Linked DNA regions of Homo sapiens: regions 2, 3, 4, 5, 6 and 7 are each linked to region 1. The links are contacts of gene promoters, found by promoter capture Hi-C in blood cells and fetal thymus (Javierre and others, 2016). All regions are on one chromosome and are shown on one strand. Each heading gives the region's core, a stretch centred on a gene start or on the middle of the fragment in contact. The rest is flanking DNA. Distances are from core to core; before and after follow the strand shown.

Evidence for each region. Contacts are between HindIII fragments. The CHiCAGO score rates a contact against its expected background, and 5 or more counts as called.
Region 2: a contact is called between a fragment that was not itself captured here and the fragment with the promoter of FLI1 in region 1, in 5 of 17 cell types (total B cells, naive B cells, total CD8 T cells and 2 more). The highest score is 9.3, in total B cells.
Region 3: a contact is called between a fragment that was not itself captured here and the fragment with the promoter of FLI1 in region 1, in 10 of 17 cell types (activated CD4 T cells, total B cells, total CD4 T cells and 7 more). The highest score is 12.9, in activated CD4 T cells.
Region 4: a fragment that was not itself captured here is called in contact with the fragment with the promoter of FLI1 in region 1 in 13 of 17 cell types (activated CD4 T cells, total B cells, total CD4 T cells and 10 more); the score reaches 17.5 in activated CD4 T cells.
Region 5: a contact is called between a fragment that was not itself captured here and the fragment with the promoter of FLI1 in region 1, in 14 of 17 cell types (fetal thymus, naive B cells, activated CD4 T cells and 11 more). The highest score is 15.2, in fetal thymus.
Region 6: a fragment that was not itself captured here is called in contact with the fragment with the promoter of FLI1 in region 1 in 9 of 17 cell types (total B cells, activated CD4 T cells, fetal thymus and 6 more); the score reaches 10.0 in total B cells.
Region 7: a contact is called between a fragment that was not itself captured here and the fragment with the promoter of FLI1 in region 1, in 4 of 17 cell types (total B cells, total CD4 T cells, activated CD4 T cells and 1 more). The highest score is 6.1, in total B cells.

What each region holds. Positions count from the first base shown.
Region 1 is chr11:128,692,097-128,695,948 of GRCh38, forward strand. FLI1 (Fli-1 proto-oncogene, ETS transcription factor) reads left to right here and starts at 1,976. Exons shown (of 9, transcript NM_002017.5): 1 at 1,976-2,180. The coding sequence starts at 2,163. SENCR (smooth muscle and endothelial cell enriched migration/differentiation-associated lncRNA) reads right to left here. Exons shown (of 3, transcript NR_038908.1): 1 at 3,817-3,852; 2 at 559-1,295; 3 at 1-25. RefSeq lists silencers at 1,035-1,084, 1,105-1,244, 1,928-2,297, 2,518-2,567, 2,608-2,827 and 1 more and a cis regulatory region at 1,464-2,196. The HindIII fragment of the contact is 9,137 bases long and covers 1-3,852 here.
Region 2 is chr11:128,219,783-128,223,634 of GRCh38, forward strand. All of the region lies in intron 3 of LINC02098 (long intergenic non-protein coding RNA 2098), which reads left to right. Among named protein-coding and RNA genes, the nearest start is that of LINC02098, 13 kb to the left of the region's middle. The HindIII fragment of the contact is 1,156 bases long and covers 1,322-2,477 here.
Region 3 is chr11:128,260,250-128,264,101 of GRCh38, forward strand. No RefSeq gene overlaps it. Among named protein-coding and RNA genes, the nearest start is that of LINC02098, 53 kb to the left of the region's middle. The HindIII fragment of the contact is 794 bases long and covers 1,852-2,645 here.
Region 4 is chr11:128,278,573-128,282,424 of GRCh38, forward strand. No RefSeq gene overlaps it. Among named protein-coding and RNA genes, the nearest start is that of LINC02098, 72 kb to the left of the region's middle. The HindIII fragment of the contact is 1,951 bases long and covers 766-2,716 here.
Region 5 is chr11:128,294,602-128,298,453 of GRCh38, forward strand. LOC124902786 (a long non-coding RNA gene) reads left to right here. Exons shown (of 2, transcript XR_007062945.1): 2 at 1-1,548. Among named protein-coding and RNA genes, the nearest start is that of LINC02098, 88 kb to the left of the region's middle. The HindIII fragment of the contact is 2,255 bases long and covers 1,102-3,356 here.
Region 6 is chr11:128,311,327-128,315,178 of GRCh38, forward strand. The region is part of intron 1 of LOC124902787 (a long non-coding RNA gene); the gene reads right to left. Among named protein-coding and RNA genes, the nearest start is that of LINC02098, 100 kb to the left of the region's middle. The HindIII fragment of the contact is 886 bases long and covers 1,626-2,511 here.
Region 7 is chr11:128,359,325-128,363,176 of GRCh38, forward strand. No RefSeq gene overlaps it. Among named protein-coding and RNA genes, the nearest start is that of LINC02098, 150 kb to the left of the region's middle. The HindIII fragment of the contact is 2,597 bases long and covers 524-3,120 here.

The DNA of each region.
Region 1 (3,852 bases), core at 726-3,225:
AGTTTGAAGGTCGGTAGAGCCTGGGCTGAAAAGGAAACAATTTGGGGTTTGAAAGGATGTAATTCATTCTTCCTTTCCCGTTAACCTCTTTCCTCTCTGGAAAGCACGTGGAAACGCTGAAGGGAGGAGTGAGAGGGCAGGCAGCCTGCCGCGGGGAGGAAAGGGTTAAGCCTGATTTCTTTTAATTGAACTCCAGAACTGGTGGCCCCAGGCAAAGGGGGGGACTGACCCCGCTAGCGGTAACCAGATGTGGCGGTCCCAGGGGAGCCCCGGAGCAGACCCCTGGATTGAGAAGCAGACAGGAGCGGGGGGAGTCAGCCCGGCCCCCATCCCACCATCCACCCCACCCCCACCCCCAACACGCACACCAAGTCTCAATTGCTGGCAGGCTGCACCCGCCACTCCAGGTCTGGTCACGTTCAGACCCGTGTCTGTATTCGAACCCAAAATTGGAGCCGAATTGATGAGACTAATTTCTAGAGAGGGAGGGGGAGGGAGGGAGACGAGTGAGCTCTCGGGCTCAATTGCTCCTGAAGAAATAAAGAATTAATAAGTCACCTTTTTTCGCCTCTGTGGACACCCTTTTGAAATTTTTTCTTCCAATTGACTTGGATCTCCTCTGGATTTTTTTTCCCTCTTTCCCCCGTCGGACTCTTAAATAAAAGTGAGCAAGTCCAAAGCGTGGTCCGGAGAGCGTGGACAAGGTAACCTGTTTTGGATGTCCGGGAGAAGGGAGTCCGGCCGAAAGGGCCCAGCCCCTCGAGGCTGCTCCAACTGGGGCGCGCGGCGGCCCAGGAGGGAGGCGGGGAGGTCTCCGGGTTGGGCCGGGGAACGCCGGCCTCCAGGCTGGGTAGGGAGGACGGTCCAGAGCGCGGGCCTCCGGGTCTCACCCCGGGAAAAGTCTGGGTCTGCTCTGCGCTGTTGCGTGCTGCGCTCCTGGGACCTGCTGACTGTCCTAGAGGGAACGTCCCGCGGTAGTGTCAGTTCCCTGGGGACCAGGAAGGGCGACTCTTGCCTGGGAGTCAGTGCTTGGGCCGTCGGGTCCGGGTAAGCGCTGGGGGTTTGGCTCGAGAAGATGCGGATAGGTGGCCTAGGGCGCCGCGGATCTCCGCCCTCTGCGGGCACCGGGAGCCCAGGGTCGAGGCGCGCCGCCCCGAGGGGCCCCTTCTCCTAACAATGCGCCCGGAATGGAGTCCGCGCCCTGACAGCGCGGGTCAGCCCGAAACCGCCCAGAATCCGCTTCGATGAGTGGGTGAGCCGCTCTGGGAGTCTGCCGCGTCTCGGCAGCGGAGGGCCTGAGTGGAAAAATTCTTATTGGATGCACTTTTTAATGGTTGGTTTGCCTCGGTTTTCGTCCGAGTCTTCCCCGGCAGTAGGCGCTGGGTTACCCGCAGCCCTAGCCAACTCTCCCTCCATACCCCCCCTACCCCACCCCCAAAAAGTTTGTCTCCGGCTGGAAAAAGCATTAATGAACGTATCTGTGGGAAGAAACGGAAAGTGAATGAGTCAGGAGGGCCACCTTCGGCCAACCGCCTCAGGAAAAGCAAAGAAGCCAAAGGTCTTTGGCTTTGGATTTTGGGGGAAGGTGATGGGGGGAGGTTCAGACTTCGGGAATCAGGGCGCGGACGCTGGGCGTGGACCCCGTCATTGTTCCCGGCTAGCTCTTATCTCCCAGGAGCAAGTATCCTGTGTGCGCAGCGCATGAATGTGTCTGGGCATCTCCGCGTATATTTATATAGTGTGTGATGCGAAAAGCAGGACCAGCAGGGGAGGAAGAGGGGGTGTGGGGGGGGAGGGAAGACGAGGGAGAGCAGAGGGGAGAGAAGAGAGAGGAGAGCTCGAGGCGAGAGAGAGAGAGAGAGAGAGAGAGAGAGAGAGAGAGAGAGAGAGAGAGAGATAGGACTTCCTCCCCGATTCGCAAAGTGAAGTCACTTCCCAAAATTAGCTGAAAAAAAAGTTTCATCCGGTTAACTGTCTCTTTCGCTCCGCTACAACAACAAACGTGCACAGGGGAGTGAGGGCAGGGCGCTCGCAGGGGGCACGCAGGGAGGGCCCAGGGCGCCAGGGAGGCCGCGCCGGGCTAATCCGAAGGGGCTGCGAGGTCAGGCTGTAACCGGGTCAATGTGTGGAATATTGGGGGGCTCGGCTGCAGACTTGGCCAAATGGACGGGACTATTAAGGTAAGCGGCGGGGCAACGGACGCGGGCGGCGGGGACCGGCCGGGGAGGCGAAGCGGCGGGCGGGTAGGTGCGGGGCCCGCGTCCCGGAAGACGTGGCCTCTCTCCCTTCCCTCCGCGCCCCGGCTTCGCGCCGGCTCCTCCGGCGCTCGGGTGGCGAGTCCTACTCGCGGGCCAGCCGGCCAGGCGCCCGCATTGAGGGCGACCCTCCCCCGAAATCCCAGCCCCCAAAGTGGAGCCCCGGCCCCCCTCCCACCTCGCTGCCCGCCGGGGCTGCAGGAGGGGACGGCGGGAAACCGGGGGACCCCAGGGTACGGAACGGAGTCAAGGGCGAGAGACCTCGGGGTCCACCACTCCCACCGACACCCGGGGCTCCCGTGGCCCCAGCGCTAGGCACTGGGCTTCCTCTCCGCAGAGGCGGAACACGGCGGGGGCGGGGGCTGCAGTCGCCCGGGCTCGGGTCCCTGCCTGGTGGGCCCTGGGGTGGGTAAGTGGCCTCGTTGCACGAGGGTAGGGGTGCAAGTGAGTGTGTCGGGGGATCTATCTGAGCGGGCTCCTCCAGATGGAAGCCCCTGTTTACATGTCAGCGCTTTCCCTTCCTCTCGGCACTCAGTCGCCCGGCTCTAGGCGCTGGAGAGCCGCCGGCTCCGCGGGACTCCTGGGCCGGCCTCGCCGCCTCTCCGGCGGGGAACCTTCCCCAGCCCCCGTCCGCACAGATCCCTAGCGCCCCGAGCCCCCGCCCTTCGCGCCTAGGCGTGCGCCGGCTCCAGGACCAGGGCTCCTGGAGCTGTCGCCTCCGAAAGGGTCCTGCGTCCTTCGGAGCCGCCTCCGTTGCAGGGGCCGGCTGTGAGCCCGCGCCCCGCGCCCGCCCGGCCATTCCCACCCCAGCCGCCGCCGCCAAGCCTGGGTCTAGGTTGCAAAGTGCAACCCAGGCGGAAAGGTGAGGGTTTGGGTTCGCGTCTCACTTCAGAAAAGTTGACTGCTGTCTCTGAAAGGGTTCGCCAAGTAGGGCCAGGAGCAGAGAGGAGGGACACCCCCTAACGTGACGGGCCTTAGAGGACCTAGGGGAATGAATGGGACCAGGGGTTAGCTTCGAGGCTGCCGCGCAACACCAAGCGGGAGTCTGTCTGGAAAAACTATTAGGCTGGCGAGGTGGGGACTGGCAGAGCCCGCCATTCCCCAGAACCCGAAAGAATCGACTCCCTGCTCAGGGCTCAGCAAGAGAAGGCTAAGATGTTGGGCTCAGAGAATTCAAGAGATTTTTATCTTCTGGGTGGGGTCGTGGTTTTTATTTTCTAAGTTTTTTTTATGAAAGTTTGAAATATGCTGACTTAGGTAAAAGACACCAACCGAAGGAACTTGCAAATCTGGAGATGAGATAACTGACTGTGATGGGTTAAAGGGAGCTATAAGAGCCTATAAGAGCCTGGGTTCCTCAAACCCAAAGTGAGTAGGTGAGAAGTAGGTGAGAGGGGATTCCTGCAAAGACCCGAGAGTGGGGGTCATTGGGCCATTTTATGCCTGTTTCTCTGCTTCCTGTTGATGTGTTCATGCAAGTGTCTCTGTATTTCTGGGTTTAGTAATGAGATGCTCCCCTCTAGAAAACTCCCTCGCCCCAATCAGGACAGTTACCACTTACTCTGAAGGCCTCTTCTGATCCAGAAGGGTGGTAAGA
Region 2 (3,852 bases), core at 650-3,149, 470 kb before region 1:
TACAAGATATTTGCTTAGCTGTTGACTTGATCTGGGAATATACCAGAATACAGAGAGGGAACAATATCCAAAATGGCGTGAAACAAAAATAATTTTGGTGAGGGGGTGAAAGGGCCAAGAAAAAAACAAGAAGGAAAGGGAAACTGAAAACCAGAAAACAAGCCTCTGGTGAGTGTCGTAGGAACCGACTGCCTCTGTCTCTTCCTTAATCCACTTCTGCCAAATGAATAGAATTCTCTCCCTGTCTCAGCAGCTCATGTGCGCCTTGAGTTTATATCCATATATCTGTAATGGTGGGCACAGTGTAGGGTGAGAAGAGGAAGAGTAGGAGAGATTATTTAAAAAGAAAGTTTTACAACCAGGAAGTATTGGAAGAGGCAAATCATGGCAACTCTGGATGTTTTTCCTAAAACCCCAGAGAGAACTGACTCTAAATAAGCTAAATTTTTCTCTAGATAAAAAGTCTTTTTCCTCCTGGAGTCCCAACAGTCCCTTGCATCATAAATGAAGCCAGAAAAAAAAAAGTTATGTTGAATAGAACTTGGTAAACTTATCCGTTGCCAAGTTACAACGATGTGACATCCCACCTCTAGCAATAAGAAAAGCTGTAGCTTTGGATCTATGAACACAGAAGTGTTATAATAATTGTTCAGTCACATCCTATTCGCCTAAGAAAAATAACTTGCCTTTATAAATTACTCACTAGCAGGGAGTATCTCAGCACTGAATGAATTTCGCTATATTTTCACTAGTCTTCAAATAAAATCTCTTCATCACAAGACACTGAAATGGACAGGACTATTCAAGAAGTGGAATTTAGGCTGGGAACAGTGGCTCACACCTGTAATCCCAGCACTTTGGGAGTCCAAGGCAGGAGGATCATTTGAGTCCAGGAATAAGAGATCAGCCCAGGCAACATGCTAAGGCCCCATCTCTACAAAAAATGCAAACGTTAGCCAGCATGGCGGTGCAAGCCTATGGTCCCAGCTACTCGGGAGGCTGAGGTGGGAGGATAACTTGAGCCCAGGAGGTTAAGGCTACAGAGAGCTATATAACTGCACTCCAGCCTCGGCGACAGAATTAGACCTTGCCTAAAAAATAAAAAGGTGGAATTTAGAAAGTCAGCATATATTTCCTCTGCTTTTAAAAAATCTCTGCAAAGATATCTTGCATAATTATGCCCACCTCCCACCTCTGTGGATCAAGAGCCACCTTATGTTTGCAAAAACTTAAATTTTACAGAACATTTTAGAAGAGGTCTGATTAGTTGTTTCTGGAACAAGATGGACTTGGAATACCAAAGACACACAGAGAGTAAAGAAGCTTGGGTCTAAGTGAAGGCTGGTCCTTTTATCTTATGTGTAACTTTTGTTTTTGTTTGTTTGTTTGTTTGTTTTTTTAGACAGAGTCCCACTCTGTAGGCCAGGCTGGAGTGCAGTGGCATGAACTCAGCTCACTGCAACCTCCACCTCCCGGGCTCAAGCAATTCTCCTGCCTCAGCCTCCTGAGTAACTGGGATTACAGGCGTGTGCCACCACACCAGGCTAATTTTTTTTGTTTTTTGTATTTTTAGTAGAGATGGGGTTTCACCATGTTGGCCAGGCTGGCCTTGAACTCCTGACCTCAGGCAATCCGCCCACCTCAGCCTCCCAAAGTGCTGGGATTACAGGCGTGAGCCACCGCACCCGGCTCTTATGTGTAACTTTTAACAAGTCATTTAACCCCTCTGACCTTCAATGTATTCATCTGTAAAGTGTAGACAATGTCTTCCCTATATATTATAAATGACTTAGGAAGATTAACCAGTTAATACGTGTATTAAAATTATCATCACTGACCATGCTGCGTCAGTTTCCTATTTCTGATTTCCTACTAACTGCACCAGATTAATCATAAAATTCCACTTTCTTCATGCAATCAAAGAATGCTGATTTTGGGCAGGACAGTATTATTCTGTATCCAAAACATGCCACAGCATAGCCTCAGTCTACCATTTCCACCTTCAATCTCATTTCCCAGCACTCCACAACATGTGTGCTGTGGACTCAGCCTGAACTATCCTACAAAATATCTTTGCCTCCATGTCTTTGTTTACCCCAGAGATAAATAAAGTATACATTCTGCCTTCGCATGTTTGGGCTTTCTCCACACCCTTGAATGTCTCCCTTGGAGTTCACAAGGTAGTGTCCAGGCTTTTGGCTTGAGATGTAACATTATTCATCTTTTTCCTCTCTCCTGTATTGTCTCCTTGAGGAAAGAGATAATGTATTCTGATTGGTCGTTTTCTGTTTTGGGTTTTTATTTTTTGTATTTTTCACAACATAAAGAACAATATTTTGCACACAGCAGATGCTCAATAAATGCCTTTTAAACAATGAATGATTTCAATTTCATATAAATGCAAGACTTGTTCTGTGGACTCCACCTTTCAGAAGAGTGGGTAGAGACAGAGGTCACCTCTTCTTATCTGCCTCGGAAGCTTATTGAAAAAAGAAGTGTGCGGCCCAGAAGAAACAAGGGTGCTGAGAGCCTCTAGGGAGAGCCACCTTGGTCCGAAATGAAGAATGCAGAGGTTTATCCTTCAGCCTTGAGTAATAAATCCCTCAAACCTTGAATTATTTTTCACTATAAACAAGAAGGCATTCTCTGAGTACTTAAAAATTCTTGAGATAGCAGCAGGTCATGGGAAGCCATGCAAAGTCTGCTCAGTGCAGGAATCTGATTCTGGGTGTCCCCCTGGGAAACCAATCTCCTGAACCCAAGGAGATCCTCATCTCTGAATTTTTTCAAATAGCCACAAAGGAGACCTAAGTCGGAAGACTTAACCTCTTCTATGCTCAAGTAAGCCCTTAGCTGCAACTGGAATTCAGAGTATTTCCACTTCAGAATATCACACACATTTCGGAGGAAATGGGGGATTGACTTAGCCTGGAAAGATAAGGCATCAAGGAGATCTCAAAGGAGAAAGCAGTTTTTAGCCTCTCCACACAGTGCATTACTAGGGCAATCACCAAACATTTAACACCTGCACTGTGGCTTCAGCAGGGAGCCCTGGCTTCTGCTTGGTTACCCCTGCTGAATTCCCCTCAGCACAAATGAGAACTGGCTGTGATTTCTTTCTCTTTTTTAAATTTTAAGTTATTGGGTGCATGTGCAGGATGTGCAGGTTTGTTACATAGGTAAATGCGTGCCATGGTGATTTGCTGCACCCGTCACCCCATCACCTAGTTATTAAGCCCAGCATGCATAAGCTGTATTTCCTGATGCTTTTCCCCCTCCGACAGACCCCAGTGTGTGTTGTTCCCTTCCTGTGTCTATGTGTTCACATTGTTCAGCTCCCACTTATAAGTGAGAAGAAGTGATGTTTGGTTTTCTGCTCCTGTGTTAGTTTGCTGAGGATAATGGCTTCCAGCTCCATCCATGTCCTGCAAAGGACATGATCTCATTCCTTTTTACGACTACATAGTATTCCCTGGTGTATATGTACCATGTACCACATTTTCTTTTTCTTTTCTTATTTTATTTTATTTTTTTTAAGAGACAGAGTCTCGCTCTATTGCCAGGCTGGAGTGCAGTGGCGCAATCTCGGCTCATTGCAACCTCTGTCTCCTGGGTTCAAGTGATTCTCCTGCCTCAGACTCCAGAACAGCTGGGATTACAGGTGCGCACCACCACACCCAGCTAATTTTTCATATTTTTAGTAGAGACCGGGTTTCACCATGTTGGCCTGGATCTCCTGACCTCGTGATCCACCCACCTCGGCCTCCCAAAGTGCTGGGATTACAGGCGTGAGCCACCGGGCCCAGCCACCACATTTTCTTTATCCAGTCTATCATTGATGGGCATTTGGGT
Region 3 (3,852 bases), core at 999-3,498, 430 kb before region 1:
TCTTCTCCTTTGAATAGCTTGAGTGTTCCTGCTACAGGGAAAGGCCACAGAGTAAACAAGAAAATAAAATAACTAATGAAATCCAAGTATCTAATTCCAACAGAAGAGAAAGAGAGAGAGAGAGATCATGTAGAGACTCAAATAAATTATTTTGATTTACTATCTGAAACCTTAGATCAAATTTCTGACTACTTTTATTCACACATTCATTGCATCATTTTTTCCTCAAAATCCGCCTTTACTTTTGATCTCAGGCTGCTCTCAGAAACTATGATATCATTGAGTACTACAGTATTCCTCTTTTTCCTTGAAAAGGTCACTTATTTAATTTGCTCCTTGGACAAAAGCCCACGTGCCTTATAATCAAGGCCTGATCTTGCTTAATGCCATGAGAGTGAAAGGGATGTAGAGAGAGTTTATTCTTTTTCTAATGATATTCATATGAGCTGCTGCATTCCCACAAAAACAGGGCCAGGAAGGGTATGCTTAGCTTTTTCGAGAAAGGTGTAATAGTCAGGCAATATTTTTCCTATCTGTAACTCAGCTCCTTGAAAATGAGCCACTGTGGCATACCAGCTAGGAGATACTTTAGGTCTAGAATGTGGACATTCTGCTATAATGTTTCCTCACATAAATAGGAAACAGAAAATATTCTAGAGCAAAAGCAAAATTAACATGATCTGAGCTTACTCCGAAAATGTAGAATTCAAATTACATATGGAAGATCTTAACCAGAAGCAATGAGATGGGAGAGTTCCCTGACCCCCCTCACAGGAAGTTCTAGAGGGGTGTGGCTTATCTGTTTGGCCACCACATGCTCAAACCGCTTACAGGAGGGGGACCATTCAGACAGGCAGGCGCAGGAGCCGGGATGAGCACTTTTGGGCTCCAGCCCCACAGTAGCGTCTGGGGAGAGTACCTGCAACTCCTGAAACCTTGATGGGCTTGTTGCAGTGCTCCTTTTAGCTCTGACATCCACAGACAGCTTAAACGTTAACCAGCTCAGTGCCCTCTTGGTAGCCAGGTTCTTGTCTGGCATCCAGGAAAAATCAGGTCACACAGACAAATTGAAGGATGGTAAATGCTGGGAATTTTATTGCCAGATGGAGGTGGCTCTCAGCGGGATGAAAGGGAATGGAGTGGGAAGATGAGATCTTCACCTGGAGTTCAGCCAGCCTGCGGCTGATCTTCTCTCCAACTGCCCCCAGCTGAACTCCTCTTGATATTCAGATGCTTCTTCTCTTCTCTCCTTCTTTGCCTTGCCACTCTTCTATTCCTCTGCTCTTCTGCTCATGGAGCCTGGGGTTTGGAGTTTATATGGGTACAGGATGGGGGGCGTGGCAGGCCAAAAGGCAACGTTTGGGTGCAGAAACAGGAATGCCTGTTCCCATTTAGGGCCGTAGGTTTCCAGGCTTGAGGCTTTGCTGGGGAACTGCCCTCTTCTACCCAGTATCTCCCTTGCCTTCTGTTCGTATCAGCAACATCAGTAGGATATGGAATTATGTTCCCAGACGACTTCTGAAAATACATGATCTCCATCAGGGCATAAGACTTCACAAGAAGTACATAATAGAAATCATCCCTAGCATTGAGAAGAAAGAAATGAAGTCAGCTCCATCCACTGCAGGCCCTGAAGCCATGGGACAACAAGGAGGTAAATGCAACAGCTCATGTTCCTTCAGAGTAGCAGGTTTTAGCGGGGAAGAGCATAGCCAGTGATCAAAGAAACTCATTAGAAAAGATGACAAGAAACCTTCCTGTTTAATACTGCTGTACCTTTTCCACTTATTACTGAGATTTCCTCTTCTGAAAAAAAATCATAGTGATTCGGACATTGTCCGGCGTGAGTAAAGCTTAAGACAGCTCTGCTTCAAATTCTTCTTTCATCCACCCCCATTTATTTCTGATTGACATGACACTTCCAGCCTGAAGAAGCTGACAATCATTGGATAAGAGGTAGCACAAGAGGTTCACCTGAGAGGAAATAAACAGGAGCTCAATGGGGAAAAAACAGTAATACCACATTTCAGTGGCAGGAATTAGTAAAGTGCTTTTATTTCCATCTCCCTTTATCCCTTCAGGCAGCCACTACAGTTTGACTCCTTTGATTCTCAACCCAAAAGATCACATCCTGATCTAAATGAATCCTTTTTGTTAGAATGTCTTCCCTTTCCCATTTGTGGGAAATGCCTAAATCCTGACCTAAATCCAAACCAAAACTGTCTCCTATCTGCTGTGCTATGCCTCTTATTCTCCATCTCCCACTTCCATGGCCCAGAAATATGAGTCCGTCACCGTCTTCTCTCTGTGCATCCTCTGATCTGCTGGACTCTAATCGCTCACTCCTGACTTTCGCACGGTAGAAATAACAGACTCTGCTGGCCATGTGAATACAATCATCCTTTTCTATCTCTGTGTATGCAGAGTAGTGGGGGCAGAGGTGGTGAAGAGAAACAGGACATAGGGAGGGGGGCTGGGCTAGAGGAAGGAAGGCTAATGACAGAGAAAAAGGGAAGAAGGGGTAAATGAACTCTCTTCAGACAGAATGAATACATTCTAAGCCCCAAGATTTGGATTTTCACAAAGCGCTTATAAACCCACCCAACTGAGCTTCAACACTTCTTAGAAACAGATTTGGTATACTAAGCTTGAGCTTACCATTACAGTGTTTTATGCATGAAAGTGCCAAGTCAGAGAAAACATGAGTAGAGAATGGGGAAGGAGAGAGACGGAAAAGAAGCCGTTGCACGAGTTTTAACTGATGAGAAGCACATTGTCAGGTTCTGCCCTGGGGAATCCCACTCTGGCTATGTCTGCAGGGATGGTAGATGAAGAACACAGAACAAGGTAGGCAGAGGAACACCCTTGGTGTATCCAGAAATGGGCTCAATTGCTGCAGGAAAGCCGGGGCCATCTGTTCTTTTTCAGTTTGTGGAAAATATTACTTCGGTCCAAAAGGAGGCTCTGTATTTGGCCACTTTTAATAGCTGCACATAAAGACATGGTACCTGTTCACAGACTGAATATTGTTGATGACTTTTGTTCATTTAAAAATATAGGTTTATGTTGAGAATATTTCAATTCAAATACGATTATATTATAGATAATTTATATACAAGAAACTATTGTTAACTATTGTCTCCCTACTGTACTATAGAGCATTAGAACATATTGCTTCTGACTAACTGTATTTTTGCACCCATTAACCAACTTCTCTTCATGCCCTCTCCATAGCCTGCCCAGCCTCTGGTAACCGCCATTCTACTCAGCACCTCCATGAGATCCATTTTTGTCAGCTTCCACATGAAAGAGAACATGCAGTATGTGTCTTTCTGTGCCTGGCTTTTTTCTCTTAACATAATGACCTCGAGGTCTATCCATATTGCAACAAAGATGAATGTCTGGTGTGATGGGTTTCCCAATTACCCTGATTTGATCATCACACAATTTACACATGTATCAAAATGCCATCTATCCCCCAAAATATGTATAACTATTATATTTTAAACAATAAAATTTTTAAGAGCAAATAGATGAAGAATAGATTTAACTTTATCTAAAAAAGGTACAAATACACACACAAAATAAGCCACCAATAATCCAATTTTGAATATGAATATAGATGCAACACACATACAAATGCTAATGTGTGCATGTGTAGGCAGGTAGATAGATGGATAGACAGATGAATAATAGGAAAATAGATATAAGAATGTCATATATGCAGGAAGATTGTCTTCCCCTTTGCCTTCTATCCAAGATTAAAAATGTATTGTATATATTTTATGTTTATAGATTTTTTAATTTAAATTATAAACCAACCAGAATTTCCTTTATGTATAGCATTTAATA
Region 4 (3,852 bases), core at 491-2,990, 410 kb before region 1:
TTGCCACCCTGTCTTCTTGCTGGCATTCAAACTGTATACTTTCTATTATTCTGTCTTCCAGTTTAAAGATCTTCTGTTTTTGCTGTGTCTAATTTTCCATCAGAGCCATCTATTCTTAACTTTGTTTATTATGTCTTTCAATTCTAGAATTTACATTTGATTTGTATTCATGGATTGAAGTTTTTGCTGGAATTCTCCATTTTACCCTCCATTTTTTTAACGTAATCATCATAATATTTCATAGTCCCTGTCTGATAAGTCCAATCCTGGATCTTTAGGGGTATGTTTCTATTGCTTTAGATGGTGTTTTCTTCCTCTAAAGAGGGCTTTATTGTTTTGTCTTGATTTTGTTGTCATTTGTTTGTTGGTTTGTTTTTCTCGTAGGCAGGTAGAGTACGTACGGATCACTTTAACCCTTTTTATAATGGTAGGCAAATATAGTGTGAGGGGTGCCGATCAGCTCAGTAGAGACTGAGCTGATTTAAGACTTCATATTAAATTTAGTAAGGCTAAGCCTATTTCTAGCTCACCTCTTTCTTATGGTGTTAATCGGGGCTTTTAACCAAGAGCTTGTGTGTTCACCGGGTCTCCTCTTCTGGTTAGATTTGTCTTCTCTCATTAGCAGAGTGAAATCCTCTCCTTTTTAGAGGTTTCTGACTTGGCTTTTTAGTGTTCCATCCCACACGGCTTTGTAATTCAGTGTCCACATCAACGACTAGTCTAGATGTGTGTTTTAGGCACCTCCGTCTTGTCACTGTAGCCCAAAGCTTCGATAATTACTCTGTCTCCAGCCATACGTCACTTCCCTGACTCAAGCCCAGGGTTGCTAGGAAAAAAAAAAAAAATACAGAATACCCAGTTAAATTTGAATTTCAGGTAAACAACAAGTTTATCTGCACCAGAATCAGAAACTACTTCCCAAAGTAGCTGCAGATGATCAACTCACCTCCCTGCAATTCCTCCTCTCCAGAACCTTCTTCTCTGACAGCTTTGTTGCATCCACAGCTCCCTGCCTTTAAATGTTTTTTTTATTTTAATCTGGCTTTTTAAGTTATAATTTATTAGAAACATTGCTTTGCCATTCATTATTCCACTTTACTGGAAGTTAAAATTTACCCTTACATTTTTAACTTACATACTCGTATACACATTCTTTTCCTAACAACACGTTTTTTGATGTCTCTGTCTATCTCTGACAATAACAGAAAAATTAGCATGCTTCATATTTCTCTTCCCCTATCACATCCTTGTTGCCTAGCAGTATGGGGTTTAAGCCCATGGAACCCCTGGGACTCCCTTCAAGAAGCAGAGTTTATATTAGCAGTTCACACACACTGTTCCATTGTGATACTGGTGAAATTTACAACCTAGTTCATGAGCCAGAGAGCAGCTGACAGTGACTGTCTTCCCATTCCTATGCTTAAGTCATAAACAGCAAATAGAGCTATTTTTATTCATTCTTCTTTCATGAGCTTTTTGCCCCACCTCTGCTGTTAAATCCTAAGCAATGCTCTGGCATCCACAATGCATAGGGCAATCGCAATCCCCAGAACCCCAAATGAGCTTTAAAAACACAAAGAAATGTTCCCACTCCACCCCATGCTGTCATACACAGCAGACTTCAGACTTCAGCCAGGTCACTGCTCATTATTTTCTCATTGATTTCTAAACTCTCTTTATACATGTTTATTCTGCTTTCTCTCTTTCTTGTTAAGCTATTTTAATTTTATCTGCTACTGCTAAGTGTTAGCAACACAGAAGGTTTCTTGAATTATAAAATAACAGTATGTTTTTTTGTTTGTTTGTTTGTTTTAGGCAGAGTCACTCTCTTGTTGCCCAGGCTGGAGTGCCATGGCACAACCTTGGCTCATTGCAACCCCTGCCACTCTGGTTGAAGTGATTCTCTTGCCTCAGCCTCTTGAGTAGCTGGGACTACAGGTGCCTGCCACCACGCCTGGCTAATTTTTGTATTTTTAGTAGAGACAGGGTTTCACCATGTTGGCCAGGCTGGCCCCGAACTCCTGACCTCAGGTGATCCGCCCACCTCCACCTCCCAAAGTGGTGGGATTACAGGCATTGAGATACCATGCCTGGCCTAAAATAACACTAGATCTTTTTGCTGTTGTTCTTCAGAAAAAAAAAATATTTTATTATAGGAAGAAACTATTTTTAAGAGAAAGTGTCTCATTTAAACAGATACAGCTATTTATGGGCAGTGCCAAGACCAGAGCTGGGTCTTCTGACTTCTAACTCCTAGTCTACTGTACCATGTAATAGGGCTGAAAATAACACTACATCTTGACTGGAAATTCAATAGAGTTTTCTTTACTTTCTTTTATTCCTTTACTGACTTGAAAGACATACATTCTACTTCTGTTTTGTTGGAGTTTACATTTTTAAAATTAACAACTGGATCTTCTACTTTTTCTAACAAAAAAAATTGTTTTTTATCTTCCTTGTGAAGAAAGTAGTGACTTTAGAGTACATTAATATTCCCCCTAAACCCTCTCTTTGCGTCTTCTAAGCTGTATCTGTCTAATGTTTTCTTTCAATTCTTATTTTAAGCAGAAACCATTATTTTTACATTCTATACAAGTTTAGATTAATTAATGTTTAACCAATATTTTTATCTACCATTTCTCTATGCAATCCATTTTTTCTCTTCCTAATTTACTTTCTTCTTGCCATAGTATAACTTTAATAGTTCTTTAACTGAAGCTTTATTAATTTTTAGATGTCTAAACATTTCTTTATCTTTTTCTCATTTTAAGGCTCAATTAGGTAGGTATATAATTTTAGTTTCAAAGCTATTTAATACATTAAACATATCCTTTCCTTTTTTTCTATCACTCAGAGTTCTTTAGGAGAAGTTTTATATTCTCCCTTTATACGTAATATTTCTTTTCTCCATTGTAGTTTTTAATACTTTGTTTATCTTTGATATTCTTATATTTTATTGTAATGCCTACGATGTGGACTTTTAAAAATTTGCCTCTATACTTTGGGCACTTTTTAAATGTGAATATTCATGTGTTCAAATCTGAAAAATTCTCATTAATTAGCTTATCAAATATTGCTTCTTCACTATTCCCTGTGCACTCTTTCTGGAATATCTATGAAAGAAGGTTGGATTTTCTATACTATGTATTTCCTAACTTCTGTTTCATTTAGGAAAACTTTTTGATATGCATTTTCTATGATCTCTTCATGTCTATCATTTAACGCTCTAATTCTTTTTCAATATGTAAAAAGTCTCCATTTTCTAGCCCATCTATCGAGTTTTCACTTTCGATGACAACATTTTCCAACTTTAGTATCTTTTCGGTCCTTTTCTATATTTGTTTATTCCATTTTATAATCTTGTTTTATGAATTATATTTCTTACAGCATTTTTGATTTATTATAAAGTCACATATCTCTAGGTCTTTGAATGTAAATTATTCTGTTTATTGGATCAGTAGACTGTAGTATTTTCAGGCACGGTCATTCCCTGTTATTTGTGTATTCATATTTGTGAATTCGTCAACTCATTAAAATTTACTTGTAACTCCAGAGTCAATCAATATTAAAGGCAGTTTTGCTACGATCCATAAACATGTGCCTGTGGCACGCAGTGAGAAATGGGAGTCGCCTGACATCTTTGCTCCCAGCTGAAGTCACAAAAGGGGCGACGCTCTGCCTTCTTGTTTGAGCTTGCCTACTGCCAACACATGTCCTTTTTACAGAGTAGTTAGTTCCATCCTGTTTGCATTTTGTACTTCTTGTTAGTGATTGCTCTGTTTTAAATGGCCCTTAGTCTGTGCTGAGGTGCTGTGTAGTGTTCCTAACTCAAGAAAGCAGTGATGTGCCTTA
Region 5 (3,852 bases), core at 979-3,478, 400 kb before region 1:
GTCTCTCTTGCTGCTCCCTTGCTGAAGTCTCTTTTCCCTTAGAAGACCCTCAGCAATAGAGAGGCCTTTGCTGATCTGTCAGATGTTTAGCCCTGGGGATTGTAAGTAAGACCATTGAGCAAAGAGGAAGCAGGGCAGGGAATGACCTGGCACACATTACTCAGCCAGGAGACATAGTTGACTTCAGCCCACTCTCAATTTTTTTTGTTGTTGTTGCAGATTAATCTGCCCAATATAGTGTGCTTTCCTTCCCAGTGCAGAGCCAGCTGATGAATGATGGGTAGAACCAAGTAAAAAGAAAAAAAAGAAGAAGAAGAACAGAAATAGAGTCTGCTCACTCATTCAACAAATATTTCTTGAGTACACAGTTCTGCACATGGATACCAGACAAGAAAAAGAATTATAGGGCAGTTTGATTGGCGCTATGGGTTGAGAAGCAATTTCTTTTTTTCTGTCTTGCATCTAACAGCCATGTATTTCAGAAGCTCTTGATGCCAATACTTGGCCTTCATAGCTATCACTCTCCATAGATCCCCTCTGCTTGGCCTAAAGATAAAATATTCCTGGGTGTCTGTTGTAGGGACTAAAATATTCACATTTGGAAAGAGATAGTAGTGTTAGACTTTGCCCGTCAAACACAGCCTCAAAGTTAATTACCATTGCCTGGCTTGTTTCTAAAACCACCAAGTGTCTATTTGAGTGTCTGGGGGAAGAATAAGAGAGTTGGGCTAAATGAGGTACTATTATTTCTGCTGAATTAATTAGACTCAATTACAGAGTTAGATGGGGTCTTGTAGCTCTAGGGATCAGCCCTTGTTTCCTAAATATGGGAACCAAAGCCTGGAAGGAGAAAGATGTTTGTCCCTAATCACAAACACAGTTCCTGGTCCTGGAAAAATGTGACCTAGGTGGAGAAAGAAACAATAAAAAACAGAAAAGAAGGAGGCAAAAGAGGAGCCAGTGACCAAAGGCAAGCTTCACTTATTTATCCTGGGTCTGCCCAGGAATCTAGCATCAGACAGTAAGAGCCAACATGGAGACAAGTCAGGCCAGTGACCTCAGAGGCACGCGGCCACTAGAAAGAAGCCCCCGATGGCATGAAGCTTTGTTCTCTGACATAACCTATGCATCTAGCACTGTGCCTGCCTACAGGAGGTGCTCAGTTACTAGGAAATTAACAAAACTGCCTTGCAGATCTTTCCTGGCTGAAGATGAGGAGTGAGGGAAGAGAAAGAAGACAACTAAATTAGGCCCTCAGCTCCTATTTCCAGAACAGTTCTGAGAGTGTCTGTTTCAGAGTTTGAGTTTCCACAACTGCCTTTGTTAACAGGAGGGATCTATAAAAAACCAATGGTCTGGACCAGGGGCTCCCACTCTGAAAGTCTGTGACTACCAGGGGCAGTGGAGTTCTTTCACGATTCGCCTAATGTTGTTGTCTTAGAAATAATACCACTTATACAAAATACAAAACCAGCAGGACTATTTCCCAAATAAATGTAAATGAGACTGGAATTAATAAAGGTAAATTCATTTTTTAAAATTACAAAATACATAAAATCCTTTTGCTATTAAGTGTCAATGAGCCATCATGAGTATAAAAACTATAGTATGTTTTATGACTGTATTGATATTTGGAAGGGATTTCCCTGTTCATAATGTTTGGAAACCACTGCTCTGGACCTGTCCCCTAATTTCATAGATAACATCTTATAAACTTCTTCCAGAGGGGAAGAAGGATGTGGCCAAAGCCACTCAGCCTTCTGGTAGCAGAGCTGGGTATCAAATTCAGGTCATCTCTGTCTTTTTCTTTACATCACATTTCCTGAGGTGGCATTTTCTAATACCTTGATCCAAAAGGACCACTCAGTTCAACTCAATTTATTTCCCAACTGGTGATGTTGGTAGCCTAAATGGTGTGCCAGGCACTGCATCCTCTAAGTGTATTATTGTCACCACCCTTACATCACCTCAGTGAGGCAAGTCCTATTATCATTCCCATTTTAAATGTTAAAAAAAAAAATGGGGACTCAAAGAGTTAGACAGTTTTTACCAGGCCACATGATCAGCAAAGTGCAAAGCAAAGCTCAAATTCTCTGACTCCAAAGCCCAGGCTCTCATGCACTTTACTGCACACGACTTAAGGAACACATTTATAACAAACACTGGTGTCCATTGAAATAAAATTTAAGGGCATTAAAGGCAGCCCTCGGCAGTGTCAGCGATGACCCCACAATGACTGCTGTGGGCAAGGAGTGGCAGGAGGCAAGAGGTCCCAAGAAATGCCCCTAGAGAGGCCGTTTCTCAAGTGGAGAATGTGGACCCCAAGACCAGAACCACCTGAGTGTTTCCTGAGAATATCATATCTTAGATTTCATCCAGAGCAGTTCAAACAAGATCTCATGAGTGGATCTGGAGTATCTGCAGTTACTACAAAAACCCCAGCTGCCTTTGAGCTCACCGTAGTTTGAGAATGAGAGGGCTGAGAGACCCCAGGCAGGGTGTCAGTGTGAGGAGATGAAGGAGCAAGAAAGTAAAAGTCAACAGCAGGCCCAGCTCCAGCTGCAGAGGAGCCTAGTTGAGCCTCAGACACACGCTTGATGCTTCACATAGGGCCATTCCCCACAGCCTGGCTTTCTGCAGAGGGAGGAGGGGTGCCTTTCATGGTTCTGGGTGTGCAGAAGGTTTGCGTGTGTTTGTTTAGAACAAAGCCTATACTTAACTGGCACAAGTGAAACAGATTTTATAAATAGATGTGAGCATGAATGGTTTTTATGATTAGCTTGTTTTTAATCACCATGCTTGACCGGTGTCTGTGTTCAACTAAGTAAATATTTCTATGGTGATAGTATACACAATACAATGGCCATTATTTAATGTTAATACAAGTACCATATGGGAGGTCTTATCATGCGAGAGCCCCAAAGCATAATAAAAGCAGATAGGAATAGATAGGCAAGGGTGGGCCTTGCTGTACAGCTGGCTTGATAAAACATCTGCTCTTACAAATGTTGGCCATGCAAGTATTTATGCAAGATGGTTCTCCTGGGGGATTTTGGGGACAAGATCAGAAAGCCATGGATTCTGCGTTTTCTCTGTTACTCATTTGGTGACCTTGGATAAGTCTCTATACTAATTGTTTAAACATTTGTGCTTTAATTTCTCAATTCTTAGGTCTTTGCCTGCCCTCCAGAGACTAATGAAGATTAATTAACACCTGGCAGAATCCTTGAGTTATATTTTTAGAACAAAGAAACAGGGAAGGGTGGTGCTGAAATAATGCCTCATTATTTTAACATATAAAAGGGAGACAATCCAGTACATTTTTCACTTACAACTGGAAATTTGAGAAAACTTGAAGCTTCCTGAGATTAGTAAAGCAGCCTTGTCATGAACAAAGCCTCTTAGGAAATGTACTAGGTTGCAAACCTCGCCAGATGACTTTTCACTCAGTAGGAACAACTAAGATGATAAAGGGCATGAAACTAGAATGATTGTCTCCTGAAAAAGGGCAAATGGGAAGGTTAGAGCTTTTAGTGTCGTGGAAAGGGACATTTGCCTGTTCACAAAGGCGTTACTCCTCTGATTTGCCTTTCATTTTTTAACTTGATGATACTACAATGTTTAGTGCAATCCAGTGCTCCTAGCCTGTTTATGTATTATCTGGCATCATCTTCAGCACTAGCTATGAATAGATAAGAGTGTTCCATTCTACGCCTTAGTCTTTTGCATCTATATGTTCTAATGAAAAGTATCAACAAGAACTTTTCATATTTGTTTTACACTTCCTGTCTGTAATATGCATTTGCATTCATGATGTCATTATAGGAGATGGGTACTATGACCACCCACAAT
Region 6 (3,852 bases), core at 819-3,318, 380 kb before region 1:
ATCTATGCTACGGGGTGAGGTCAGAACACCTTCCCTTGTTTTGATCTCATTGGGCTCCAGCCTCCCTTATAAAGGTCCTATTAAAAGGGGCTATAACTGCCTCTGTCTTGGCCTGCCTACTCTATGGGAATTTTCCTATAATTTTGAAGTATTTCAAATCAAAATTTAATTATTTGGAATGGTTTATTTAAAACCCTTCTGAAGGAAAGAGGAAGGGCTAAATGAGGTCTTTGGCATTCTCCTGTACTGCTACTTTCAGTGGGGCTCTTTCTGCCCAAGGCTCTTTTTCAGTAAATTGCCCTGGTTGGCTAAACCCAGTGGGTTTCTTCCTATCACCATATCCCATATACTCTTACAGGAATTTCAGAAGAATTACTCCTTTTTGTTTCCTGAAATGAGCATTCTATGAGCCTATGTTTTTAAATAAAATAGCCTGGAACCATTTTCATTAAAAGATAGTACAGCAGTACAGTGCAAACATTTAACTTATGAAAACTAACAAGCAGATGAAACAAAAAGAGTTGAGGGCACTCAGTGAGGAATGCTCACTATTGAGGTGTTAGTCGTGAAGCACTGAAGAGAGTTTGAGAGAGTTCAGGGAGGTGTTCTAAGCACATCTGCCCTCAGCATGTACTGTTTGTATAGGATGTGAGGTTCTGGACCAAGTCTCAGCAAGGAGAGAAAAGGAGTGGGGAATGCAATGAGGTCTCTCTCCTCATAGTGCTCAGTCCAGGGGAAACCTAGAAAGGAGTAAGTCAGGGTCACCCTACAACTATTTTTGAGGCCACAGTTGCACAGGGCACCCACTGAACACCATTTCAGTTCAAAAGACACACTTGCTTATGAGCCTCATTGAGGGTAACTCATCTTGTATTCACCAGAGAAAGGGGGAAACCCACTAATCTAGAAGTAAAGGGACCTGTAACACAAGAGCTTCTGTATGACACTGCCAAGGCTCTGTACTGACTTTCAAAAACAAAACAAAAGTAAGAAGTTTATAATGGTAAGAAGAATTGAAACCTGCAAAGCAAGTTTATCAAAATATAAGGTTAAAGTGGGGATTCCAAATTGTCCAATATAATATGACGCTAAGTCAAAATTTCGTTACCACCTTGAAACTTTTCTTCATGAGAATTTTGTTCCATCTGTGTCTCATTAACATGTTCACTTATGTTTACTGTCCTATGAAGTCATTACATAGCCTCTTTTCTGAGGGCTCAGACCTCTAGACAGTCCTTCCTCAAGTTCACCTGAGAGTCACACCTGGCCTGAAACCTTTAAATCTAAGAGAAAAACTCACCTATACATTTCAACAATGTTTACTTAAAAATCCAAGTTATCCAAGGTCATAATTTTCATGGAATATTGCCAGAGGGTCTTTAACTAAATGTCACCTTTTAATTAAGAAGGCAACTGGCAACTATTTCTAAAACTTAGATTGCCGTCTCAACATTCTCTATTTCTCTTTACCTCTCCTTATTTTTTCCTTAGCACTTACCACCATTTAACCTAGATTATATTAAATGTGTCTGGTTTGTTGTCTGTGTCACATAGTAGAATGTTAGTTCCATAAGGGAGTAAATTTTGACTCTTATTTACAACTATAGTCCCAGTATCTAAAACAAAGCTTAGAACACATTAAGAACTTGATAAATATTCATTATCAAATTCTACAGCTCAACTTAGCACCACTAGACCCATTGACTCTGATGCTGATATCTTCTCAACAAAATCATACATGACATAAGAAAAATAAATAGCTTCTTCTCATATGATGGGTTTTCTAGACCAATATTAACCAGTGTCTACATGTGACTGTTGAGCATGGAAATGTGACTAGTCCAAATTGAAATGTGAGTATGAAATACACACTGGATTTCAAAGAATTTGGATAAAAAAAGGATGGAGAATATCTCAGGAATCATTTTATATTGATTGCATATTGAAATGATAGTATTTTAGATATATTGGGTTAAATAAAATATATTATTAAAATACTTTTTACCTGTTTCTTGTTTCTTTTTTAATGATGCTACTAGAAAATTTAAAATTATATACATGGCTTATATTATATTTCTATTGGAGAGCACCTCTTCCAGAATACAATTTTCCAATGCCTGAAACACTTTTTTGAGGAAATGCTAGGATGCAGACCAAAATGTAAAGAACCTGACCTCTTAATCCTCTTTAGAGGAATTCATATTATTTGTGTACAGTTGTCCCACCTCATCAGGGGAGGTTGAGCATTCTGCAGTTTCAGTTACTCAGGGTCAACTGAGGTCAAAAAACAAGTGAGTACAGTACAATAAGATACTTTGAGAGAGAGAGAGAGAAACAACATTCATATAAATTTTATTACAGTATATTGCTATAACTGTTCTATATTATTTTCAGTTATTGTTCATCTGTTTCTGTACTAACTTATAAACTTTAGCATGAGTATGTATATATAGGAAAAAACATAGTATATAAAGAATTCAATCATATCTGTAGCTTTAGACATCCAATGGAAGCTTTGGAACACATCCCTTTAGGATAAGGTGGAATTACTGTATAAGGATAAGGATTTTAGAAAATAAATTCCCTTCTACATGATGGTTTTAATCTGTTTCTTTCTCAAACATGAAACAAAGGAATTTTGGTAGAACACAGAGTGAACTAGGGCTCTTAAACTCAAGTAATAATAGAAGTATTACTTGTCTGTTATCTGGCATATAATCATGTATTAGTCTGTTCCCACACTGCTACAATGAACTACTTGAGATTGGGTTATTTATGAGTAAAAGAGGTTTAATTGACTCACAGTTCCTCAGGATGTACAGGAAGCATGACTGGGAGACCTCAGGAAACTTATAATCATAGCAGAAGGTGAAGAGGAAGTCAGCACCTTCTTCACATGGCTGCAGGATAGAGAGAAAGCAAAGGAAGAAGTGCCACACACTTTTAAACCATCAGATCTCATGAGAATTTACTCACTATCATGAGAGAAACAAGCGGGAAATTCACCCCCATGATACACCACCTTCCACTAGGCCCCTCCTCCAATTCAACATGAGATTTGGTTGGGGACACAAATCTAAACCATATCATTCTGCCTCTGGCCCCTCCCAAATCTCATGTCCTTCTCACATTGCAAAATACAATTATTCTTTCTCAACAGTTCCCCAGTCTTAACTCATTTTAACATTCACTCAAAAATCCACAGTCCAAAGTCTCATCTGAGACAAATTAAGTCCCTTCTGCCTATGAGCCTGCAAAATAAAAAGCAAGTTCATTGCTTCCAAGATACAATGCGGGTACAGGCATTGGGTAAATGCTCCCATTTAGGAGAAATTGGCCAAAACAAAGGGGCTACAGGCACCATGCAAGTCCAAAACCCAGTAGGGCAGTCATTAAATCTTAAAGCTCCAAAATAGTCTCCTTTTATCCCATGTCTCATATCCAGGGTATGCTGATGCAAGAGGTGGACTCCCAAGGCCTTGGGCAGCTCCACCCCTGTGACTTTTCAGGTTACAGCCCCAGTGGCTTCTTTCATTGGCTGGCATTAAGTGTTTGTGGCTTTTCAAGGTGCATGGAGCAAGCTGCCAATGGATCTACCATTCTGAGGTCTGAAAGATGGTGGCTGTCTTTTCACAGTTCTACTAGGAAGTGCCCCAGTGAGGACTCTGTGTGGGAGCTCCAACCCCACCTTTTCCTTCTACACTGCCCTAGTAGAAGTTCTCCATGAGGACTCCGTTCCTGCAGCAGACTTCTGCCTGGACATCCAGGCATTTCCATACATCCTCTGAAATCTAGGGAGAGGTTCCCAAACCTCAACTCTTGCCTTCTGCATAGCTGCAGGCCCAACATCAA
Region 7 (3,852 bases), core at 572-3,071, 330 kb before region 1:
TGATTGGTTTTTGGCAGTCTGTCTCTTCTCCATCAGGATGGACAGCCTGAAAGCAGAACCCATACCTTTTGTCTGAGAATAGTGCATACATAAGCCCTCTGCCTAGTAAGTATTAGGCATTCAGTAGGTGCCTGGTCAATTGATGATATACTATGACTTACTTTTTGAAGGAGCTGAGAGACATGAATTGGCAGAGAGAAGACCTGAATTGATATCAAGGGAATTAGACTCCATGAGCAAGATAGAACTAAATTTGATTAAATGGGTCTCTTTCAACATCGTAATGCCATTCCAGAGTGGAAGTCTCCACTTTAGGACAGCTAATCTCTGGTTTCTAAGTTTCCCTAAGGGATCGCAGACAGGAATATAATCTGTTCCACAGGCCCTGTCCTCTTTCCCCTTTTGGCCTCTGATTCTTAGCATTGCAGAAATATTACTCACAGAAATAAACTGACCTTTTGAAAAGTAACCGAAATCATGCATTCCAGCTGAGGACAATGAACTTGATGTTTAAAAAAGTATAAGCTTCTGTGCCAACATAATGAACTTGTTGGCTACTACTATGTTCTTTCAATTTTGGAATAAACATAAATGTGACCCTCAAACACTTGTTTTAATAAAATCATTTAGTGTGTGTGTTTTTTCTTCCTACCTTAGCCAAATGTTATTGAAAGTCCAGTGGGGTGGTTAAACCCTACCTTATCTCCTTAACAGTCACGAAGATCATAGAATTTTTGTTTCAGAACCATGACCACCCCCTGCCCAATGACTTGTGTAATCCAAGATAGATCTGAAGGTGATTGCACATGATACAGATTTAATTCTATGAACATAAGTGTAGAAGTGAAAACACAAAGCCCTTTGAGTTAGATTTATCCTTTCATCATTGATAGTAACAACCTTGGATATTCGCACAGTACCTGACAGTTTACTAAAATGTACTTATTGTTGTCATATTTAATCCTTCCAAAAAAGTAGGAAGGTGTTTTATTATTATTATCATTGCCTATATCTTATGGATGCAGAAACTCAAGTTTGGAAACATTACATGATTTGCCAAAGGCCAAATGTAAAACAGGTTTTAGAAACCTGCGAGGTGTGGAGGAAAGTGTACAGGCTCCAGCCAGACAAAACCTAGTTTGATTTTTGGTTCCTCCACTTATAGCTTTATGATCCTTGACCTAAACAGCGATTACAACAAAATGTATCTCATGCTCACTGTGCCCAGGTCAATGTTCTAAGCACTTAGCTTGTCTTATATTATTTAATCTTCATAAGAGCCTATGAAATAAGTTCCATCATTATTCCCACTGACAGCTGAAGAACCTGAGACACAAAGGGATGGGAAACTTGTCTGGAATCTTCTAACTGATCAGTGGAAAAAACAGAATTAGAACCCATGTAATTTGACATCAGAGCCCAGGCTCCTAAGCACTAGGAAACCCCGTCTCCCTAAGTCAGTTTGCTTCTCTCAGTCACAATATTCTCATTGGTAAAAGGGAGGTAAATGGTGCCTACCTTGCACAATTGTTATTAAAAGTAGAAATAATATCCATCAAGTACCTAGCAAAATTCTTAGTAGGGCACTCTCACCAAATTTTCAGATTTCTCTAACCCACGTGAGATTTTCCATGATATGCTAGGCCAGGATTTTTATTCTGAACCCATTTTGGAGTCCATAAATGAGCTTCAGAGACAATACAACCCTCCTGAAATGGCATCGGTAGGTCTATCTCTGTCTCTGTCTCTATCTCTTTCTAGCTGTGTGTGTTTGTGTGTGTATGTGTGTGTGTGCGCGCATGCATGCACTCATTTTTCTGGGGACACTGTCTCTAGCTTTCATCAGATTCACAAAAATGTCCATGTCTCCCAAAGAAACATTAGCACTACTGTTGGATAATCTTGAAATAAGTCATATACTCTCCAACTCTATTTTTTCATGTATAAAATCATTTAAATATTTTATCCAATCAACATCCTCAGCAGAAATGTGTTTGCCAATTCAACTTACTGTTAATCAAGTTTTAAGCTCATGTTATAAGAAGATCTATTTCGTTTCTTGGATGGGTATAATTGAGTTTGAAGATCTGAGGAAAGAAATGTTTCCTATATCTTGGCCTTCCTCCCTATCAGCTGGCTGTGTTTGGGGCTGAGAAGAAGTCTGCATCAGCACATGTGAGTGTGTGTGTTTACATGGGCCCCAGGGGAAGTGATGACTGTGAGGCAGGCTGTATGCCTGTCCTGAAATGTCTGCCCTCCTCTTATCAGAAACCAATGTGCGTGTTTATTCTATTCCCTCATTAATCTCCTCCCAGCAAACCACAGACTGCCACAAGCAGCTTGATGTCTCAGCACACTTGGCAGCCAGGCAGGTCACTAATGAGTCCTCAGCACCCTGGCCTTGTTTGTTGCTCCCCAGCCCACCAGGAACTGGACTCTGCTGGGCTGATGAGAAGTGGGCGGAAGGGAGTGTACTGGCCCCACAACCAAGGTGCGCACAGGGATGGACAGCCCCAGAGAGTCCCAATCCTCACACCGTCAAAGGACAGCAGACACAACTGATGCCAGTTTATATGAGGTTGACATGAAGTTCAAACCAGCCCACTGCTATTTTTAGTGGAGAGGTTGGCGGTGTGATTGCAGAGGGCCTTATTTAATAAATCACCTACTCCCGGGATTCGAGAATAAACAAACGCTATGAGCAGTGTGAAGCTGCCATCACCCCTCCTGCTCTGCATTTGCTTTCTCACCTTTGCTCGTCTTCTATTTCTGTTTTTCTGTTCCCACTTCTGTACTTCCTTCAGCTGGCTCTTTGAGAAACACAGCTGAGCTTAATGCATTCATTAAGTGGAACTAAATATTCCCGAAAAAAATTGAGTTATGACAACTTTTTGAATAAATATTTCATGGTCCTTAAAAGATTCTAGGGATGTCTCTATAAACCACCTTCCAAACCCTCTTGCTTAAAGGGCTCTTGCCTCATTAGGGCACTGGCATTTCAATGTTGTATGCATTTTAACATTTAAATTAAAATTGTTCTAATTTAATAGCTTCATTCACCACAGCCTCTTATGTTATTATAATCACCTGTAAGTTATGCAATGGTGATAAATGGCATAAAGCTTTAAAGGTTTCAGATAATCATACCTATTTTATTCTCTCTCTCTCTCTCTCTCACCTCCTGAGCTCAAGCAATCCTCCCTCCTCAGCCTCCTAAGTATCTGGGACTACAAGCATGTGCCACCCTACCTAGCTAATTTTTTAAATGTTTTTGTAGAGATGGGGTCTCATTATGTTTCCCAAGCTCATCTCAAACTCCTGGGCTCAAGCAGTCCTCTCCCCTGGGCCTCCCAAAGTCCTGGGATTACAGGTATGAGTTACTGTTCCCAGCTCCTATTTTCTAATCTCCTCCCACACATTCCCCAATCTTTCATAATCTAGGTTCTGCTCCCATCACTGATGGAAACTGCTTACTTAAAAGTGACCTGAGAGCTTCCAAATGCCTCTCCCCTCTCACACCTCTTCCTGCTCACCTGCGGACCCCCATCAGAGGGACCACTTCTACCATGTGACAGCACCCCCCTTACTTTCTGTCACCCAGCCCAGCACTGGTTGCCTTCCACTTATTTAGACTTTTCTATCAGCCCATGTTGCCGAGACTTTCATCTGAATCTTCCCCTTATGTGCAATCCTTATGTTCAGCTTTGGTTTATTCACTTACCTAATAGTGTTATTATTAAGTGCCCATGAATGCCAAAGCCACTTCCAACAACATATCAAACTGATTATCTGAAAACCTTCCAATTACAAAATACCTAGAAAACTCAGTAATTATATAAGAAGTAGTTTAAA